2 separate regions of the Homo sapiens genome follow, and region 1 is linked to region 2. Evidence: promoter capture Hi-C in human tissues and cell types (Jung and others, 2019). All regions are on one chromosome and are shown on one strand. The core of a region is centred on a gene start or on the middle of the fragment in contact, and the rest is flanking DNA. Distances in the headings are between cores, read along the strand shown. Region 1 has its middle 96 kb from the start of LINC00161. Region 2 holds the start of CYYR1 (cysteine and tyrosine rich 1).

Region 1 (3,773 bases), core at 779-3,278, 1.9 Mb after region 2:
AAGATAGGCCTGAAAATATGTAGTGCTAGAATGCACTAATAGAAATGTGTACTGATACAATGCCAAGCACATAGTAGGTATGGAAAATAAGATGTTCTTGCTTTGGCAAAAATAGACCAAGGAGCTATTTGCCTACAGAGGAGCTAATTATTCTGCCTGATGAAGCTGGATAATTTTCCATAAAGGAAATGGCATTTGATTTGGGTTTACATGGATGAAAACACATTTCCCAGATGGTGAAGAACACAAAGACTGTTTTTGGAAGAGGCAAAATCACATGTGAAAGCACAGAGACCCATTAAAAATGTGTAGAATAATCACACATGCCCGATCTCAAGTTCTAAAATTCTAGTGAAGATGGATTTACTCTGTACATTATATCCTCGGGGAAATTTTAGTTTCCATGCACATGAATTTACACTTCTCCCTGACTTAGATTATTAGAGAAATAGGAAACTAGAAGTTAAGAAAAGGAAGCTGAAATAACTCATAAGGGAAAAGATAAAAGAGAGATGAGGCAATGCAATGAAACTGTAGGAGAGAGAAAGAGAGCTGGGAGAAGATTATCCCCAAACCTTGCAATTGAGTGTTTTGGTTTATGGGTGAAAACATCCCTGAAGTTATAGGTGAGGAAGGGCTTTCTTGTAAATTTACTATGTTCAGAATTGGCACCACTGGGCCCTGCACTGGGGAATGCAAGTTGAGAAATAAAGACTACGTGAGGTTAGTTTTTCAGCTCAGGCATCCACATGAATGTCTGCAGAAATGCGGTGAAACCACACTGATAAAAGGTAAATTAAAATCATAAAATCAGAGAGGCTTTGAAAATTAGACAGTGGACAAACACAGGGACTCTTCTGCACTGTAGATTAACACCATCAAACAAAACAAATGTATAAGTTCTGTATTTAATATATGGAAAAAGGAGAACAGAGATACTGAAAAGTCACTGGAGATCAAAGAATGATAAATTAATATATATCCATTCCATGCTATTAATTACCAAATGAAGGAACGTGTGAGATATTGACATTCTCATTATTTGGTGGGCTGTTTTCATGGCTCTATTTTAGAAAACATAAACTATGTTCATCAGATTTTTGAGAGATTAACTAATTATCTCATTTCCCCAATCCTAATTTTCCCTGGCGGGATTGTAAGTTTCTTACATAGGGATTTTAGTAATCTAATTTTATGTATAGAGAAGAGACTATTACATTGTGGCCGACTAAATTCACCACATCCCACGTGGTTGTATACACACAACCTTAGGAGAATTGCAAGAAGCAAGTTTGTCAAAGTGAAACCAAAGAGTTTGAAAAGTGTCCTGTAGCCGGTAAGAAACCAAGGAAAGATTTTAGGTAACTCTGTCTTGAAAATAATTGTTTATTACTGCCTCCTCTTCTTGTCTATTGAGAGTTCTTTTTGTAAGGTGCCATCTTTAAATTATGTTGAGTCTTCCTGGAAATTCAGTGGAAAATTCTTTTTTATTGAGAACATATGCATTAAAGGAAAGGAATTTTACATGTGTGAGAATACAAAATAACCAATATTCTAAGTTAAAGAGAGAGACGGAAAGAGAGTAACTTGTTTTGGGCTCCTTCACTGCAAAAGAAGGAGGTTTGGTATTGTTTTCATTTTTTTAACTGCATGCATTGCTTAGTGGACAAATGAAAATTAGGCAATTCTATTTGCCAAAGCTTCAAGATCTCACTCTTGAATCAGAATACCAAGTACACTTAAGATACAGCAAGAAGGAAGCTGCAATCTGGCATCACACATGAATCATATGTAAACTATGTACAGTAGTGATCTTCCCAGTGGCAGAAAAGCTCAAAGCCACATGAAACCAATCAACACCATATTGATGTCATCTTCTCAAAACTTCTCATCTGTTTCATAGCCATCAGACATTGTGATCTTTAAAGCAGATATTTACCCTCTCTGTTGCTAACTAAGCCAAATTTTGCATTACAGTAATTTTTTACAAAATATTTTTTTCAGATTGTTGAAAGAACATAAAATGTAGTGGTTTATTTATTTAGTGGTAACAGTAATTAACACTAATATTATTAACTAACTTATAAACTGTCCATTTAAAAACATGCTTATACATTTATTATGTGTCTTTTTTAATGACTAGATCAGCCAGACTCCTAATAGAAAATTATGACATTCTCAAACTGGATAATTGGAGTTCAATAAAACACCTATTTCTAAAAGTATGGATAAAGCTAAAAATGGTAGCTCAAATAATAGTAAAATACCTCTTTCTTGCAACCTCTGATAGGCAATTGCTCCTCTGGTTTGGAAACTGTCCCTTCCAGAACTCATGCTGAAATGCAGTTGCTATTGTGACAGTATCAAGAGGTGGAGTCTTTAAAAGGTGGCAGGCCATGAGGGCTTCACCCTTACATGTGGAATGGGTGCCTTTATAAAAGGGTAAAATTGGTTTCCTCCTTCTCTCTTGACATTCTGCCTTCCACCATATGATGACACAATAAGAAAGCCCTTGCCAGATGCTGGCACCTCAACCTTGGATTTCCCAGCCTCAAGAAGTAAATTTCTGTTCATTATAAATTACCACATCCGTGTCATTCTGTTATGGCAGCACAAAATGGACTAAGGCAGTTGTCAACAACTTGACAAATCTCAAACTCCCCCTTGGCATCTGAGGTACAAGGCAGAGACCCCACTGAGAAGTCTTCTATGTGTTTACATGACATGAGTGGATTTAGTTTTCCTCATCATAATCTGTCAGAGTTTCCTCTTAGACAAGCTTGTGAAAAATACATCGTCATGCCCTTAACACTGGATTGGAAAAACTGCACCAAAATCGCTTGAAGGAAAACCGACTGAACAAAGTTTCACAATAATGTCACTCCTACAATGCATCATCTATGCAAAACAAGATATCAAATTCTATAACTTTCCAGCACACTAAATTATCTCCCATTTCCTCTACTTTTTTTCTTACAAAAACACATACTACACTCACACACGCACCTTAATTGCCTATCAACAAAAACTGTGTACTGAAACTTCCAAAGAAGTTAGGTGAGGGTTTAAGTATTCCTTTTACATTTGCATGCATGTAAGCACCTGTGATCATAGGTCTTACCTTTCATGGTTTCCTAGGTAATAGGACCTCTTCGTTGATAGAATGATCCTAATATTGACATAGGAAAAGGGGCCACAAATAAGAGTTGGGCTGTTACTTAGGAAAGCTTGTCATTGTTACTTCCCCAGATAACAAGAATAAATGATGCAATAAAAGAATGAGTGCCTGCTTCAGCAACTCATCATTAAAAGTGAAGAACTACCACAGGAAGCAGAACTCGAAAAGAATGTATGCACTTATGCAACCTTTCTTGTAGCTTTTTGCAGCTAATTCTTATTATTATACATCAAGATAAGAAAAAAATCACATAAATCTTTGAAGAAAAATGAATGAAAGAGGGCTTTCTTTAAAGGTTACTAGCTAAATCCATTTCTTTACTTTCTGATTTTTTCTTTCTTTTCTTTTAAATAATCATTGAAGGCATTGATTCAAAGGAAGTTAATGCTGCAAAAGACCTAGAAATCATCTAGGAGTCTTTTGACTTTAAAATACTTTTTCTGAAGAATAATTTGTTCAAGTTCAGTAAAATTCCAACATGTGACAGAGCTTTGTTCTGGCTGAAGTCCACTTGGGTTCCCTTCCTCTTGTAGCTGACATCAGTAGTGGCTTCTACAGGGATTCTGGGTAATTCCTCCCAGAGCACTGGCCTGGA
Region 2 (3,634 bases), core at 875-3,374:
ACGGCTCAACATACCTCACTCAGTAAGTAATAGTTGAATGAATATGAAAAGCATAAAAAGGCCTCTGAATAACAAGTCCAGGAATTGACACCAAAGAGCTTATTAGCTAAACACTTCTTAGCAAAGATAGTAAGTCAACTTAGCACTGGCTTACAACTACTTTGTAGCTTATGATAGAGGGATTCCAAAGAAGAGAAATGAATGGACTGAAAACTTTCTAAACTAACCACCCTTGTTGCTGGCCAGCTTCGCTGATTTCCTGAGCCCTGAGGAGCTGGGCACCTAGCACTGGGGAAACAGGAGGAGGGGGCAGATGTGTAAAGCAGAAGCTTTCAGTTTACCACAGGGAATATAATAAACAAACAAACAAACAAACAAAATTGTGGTTCAATGGAGTGGTTGAATAAGTGTGAGTGAAAGTATTAAATATTGTCGAGCAGAGGAAGTGAAAAGCATAATTACTTCGAAAGAACTAATAAAGAGATTTTTTCAATAGAAAATGAATATTAATGCAGTTGACTCTGTTAATCCCTCAAATTCTGAAAACCTTATACAAATTTAATAAAAGAAATAAATGTTGTAAACAGATTAAATGTAATTCTCTTCATTAAATACGAAGAACTTATCCTACTTTTATGAATTTTCATATTAGAAGGTCAGCATTTTTCCTGCCATAAAACATCTTTAAAATGGTAACTCCTAGACAGCCACTAATTTGCATTTCAATAAACAGGCTAAAAATGTCTACAGAAGTTATGGTGACTCTTTTCTAGCAAGGTTGAATGAGAAATTCAATTCTTTTAATACTCAGGTGCAACACTGAAGAACATCATTTCAGTTGCAATATCTTTTTGAGTATCAAAGGTAAATTTCAGTGCTATATATACATTTCGTATTGGAGGCTCAGGGGTGAGCCTGCGATTTTTGTCATAGGACGTTAGAGACACAAAAACATTTTACAAAGAACTTTGCTTTTAGCTTGCATTGTTTTGTGAATATGAACTGATGCAAAGACCACGTGTGTAAGACACTTTATACCTGAATAACCAATGAAAGGCCATTTGGGGCTCCATATTAATCACAAACAAGAAAACCCACTTTGCTTCGTTAATTATTAGCAGTTCTTACTACGAATAATTAGAAGGGAAACCAGATGCCCTTCTCTTATAAACAAGTGTCTATCTAAATCAACGAACCTGTACAGATTAGACCCTGGGTGAATTCATGCTTCTCAAAAACCTTGTGTTTGACTTCAGTCCAATAGCTCAGTCTACCACACTTGTGAATCTCCCAAAGAACGAAAACAAAGCTCTAAGTTTTTTTTATTCACAAGAGGGAAAACCAGGACTATTTAGAAAGCAGAAGATGGAGAGGCCACTGCCTAGCCTATCCAGATAAGTTTATTTGGATATAGTTTACTCTATCCAGAGAGTCAAATCCCCTAAACACGAGACTGCTATTTCCAAGGTGGAAAGGGAAAGAAAAGAAATGCAAAAGGTAAAAGTTAAAGGAAAAGGAACAAAACAAAACCGCGTGCGGCTGGAAGTGCGCGGGTTTCTGCCGTCGCCTCGCGGAAAAGGCAGAAGCGTCTGCAAAGGTCCTTCTGCAAAGGTCCCGGTCCGTCCAGCTCAACCCACGTTAGCCCGGACCGTGACCCAAGGGCAGCCCCGAGCCTCTGACCCTCTCCGCCGCCCTCCGTCACTGACCTGCGTAGACAAAGAGCAGGACCAACTTCGGAAGCAAGACCCCTGGACGCACGGGTAGCCTCGGAGCGTCCATCCAAGCCGGTGGCCTGAGGCTTGGAGCGAAGGGAGAGCCCGGAACCGGAGGGAATGGGGAGGATGGAGGGCGATCAGATGGAGAGAGCAGCGCTCCTGAGAGCCGGGTGGAGCAGAGACCCGGCCATTGCCTAGGGAGCCTTCCAAGGGAGCCCGGGCCGGGCGCGTCCCGGGCCAGCGACTGCGGGACTCCGCGGAGCTGGGGCGCCCGTGGCCCGAGACGGGCTGCGCTGGGGGCCCAGGTCTCTTTGTCTCGCCCCACTGCGCTCAGGCGCGGGGAAGGCGGCCACTCCGGCGTCCTTGGCCACCCAGGCTCACATTTCATCTCCGCGGGTGGCAACGACTGCGGGCAGGGGGCGGGGGTGGCCCCGACTCCTCCCCAAGCCCGGGTTCTTCCTTCTAAAGAGTGACTAGGGGACCAAGAAACTTTTCCTAACCCCTTGCTTTGGCGATTGCTATGGAGTTCAGCCTGCTCCTTTTTAACCTTGCCTCCACTACAATTTTTCCTTTCTAAGCAATGGATGAACAACTTTGCTTTTTATCTTTAAACAAAGGGAAGGAATTTTCAGGGTTGAAGGTATTCGACAAAGAGTGACAGTGAAGAAAACTCAGGATTGGGAAGTACAGAAAGTGTATGGCATCTCTGCTGAAAGCTGATAAAATGTTTATTATTTTTTCCTGTAAATTCAGAAAAAAAAAACACAACAGTGCACACTGTCGTTATGATTTTGACGTTTTGGAGTTACTGGCCTATGCAATTAAACAAGAGAAAGAAAAAGATTTATGAAAAATGAAAGCTAAATTGTCATTAGCAAATGAAATACGTGTATACATGGAAAATCAAAGTTAATCAACTATAAAGCTCTTGTTTAGCAAACCAATAGTTTTCTTTCCTGCAAACAAAAATCAGAAAGTTCTCAATGTTATGCATGAAGGAAAAAAAATGATACGAATAAGTAAAGAGATACTTTTTTCACTAAGAAAATTTAGTAGGATAAAGACAACAAGATTCCCCAAATTATTATATACATTTGGAAATAAAATTGATCCCAATTTTTAAAATAACATGATTTTTTTCAAACCAATCTGATTCTAAAGTTTATATGGAAAATAAATATGTAAGAATATCTATTTAAAACAAGAGTAATGAATGGGAATAATGAATGGGATATTACATATAATATCACAATAATTAAAACAGTTTAGATTAACATTGGAATAGATAGGCTTAGTGAAAGAGAAAAGGTAACCCAAAAGTAGACATGAGTATGTACAGCAATTTAATTTATGGTTTAAAGAAATATCAATGTAAAGTAGTAGGGGAAATGATGAGTTACTCAGTGAAAAGTGTTGAGGCCGTAAATAGCCATCTGTGGAGCCTTATCTTTTTACATCAAAATCAGTTCTATATGAATTACATATTTAAGATACAACTATGAAAATATTAGATTAAAAAATAAGAGGATAACATTCAAATAATTGTGGAATAGGGAAGCCTTTTCTAAGCATTATAAAAAACTCAGAAACCATAAAACAAAATATTGACCAACTTGACTAAATAAGAATTAATACTTCCAGTTGGCAGACATTTAACTGGCAAAAATATTTGCAATGCAAAGTCCTAATCTCATTATTATACTGAGCTTAAAAAAATCAATAGGAAAAACAACCAAGAGATAACTGAGGAAGGATATTAATAGACACTTCATACAAAACAAATAAATATAAATATAGAAATAAAATTGACAGTGAGACATCACTTTTCATGTATCAAACCAACCAAATACAAAACCAAATGAACTCTTAAGGGAAACGGTGTGGTTATATGTACGAAAATTCAAATACACATGTACTTA

The links. The method cuts DNA at HindIII sites, captures the fragments that hold promoters and counts their contacts. A contact is called where the count stands out against the background at its distance.
Region 1: a fragment that was not itself captured here is called in contact with the fragment with the promoter of CYYR1 in region 2 in 1 of the 25 tissues and cell types used here (dorsolateral prefrontal cortex).

What each region holds. Positions count from the first base shown.
Region 1 is chr21:28,441,027-28,444,799 of GRCh38, forward strand. No RefSeq gene overlaps it. Among named protein-coding and RNA genes, the nearest start is that of LINC00161, 96 kb to the right of the region's middle. The HindIII fragment of the contact is 3,386 bases long and covers 336-3,721 here.
Region 2 is chr21:26,571,162-26,574,795 of GRCh38, forward strand. It overlaps CYYR1 (cysteine and tyrosine rich 1), which reads right to left and starts at 2,125. Exons shown (of 4, transcript NM_001320768.2): 1 at 1,707-2,125. The coding sequence starts at 1,779. The HindIII fragment of the contact is 7,865 bases long and covers 90-3,634 here.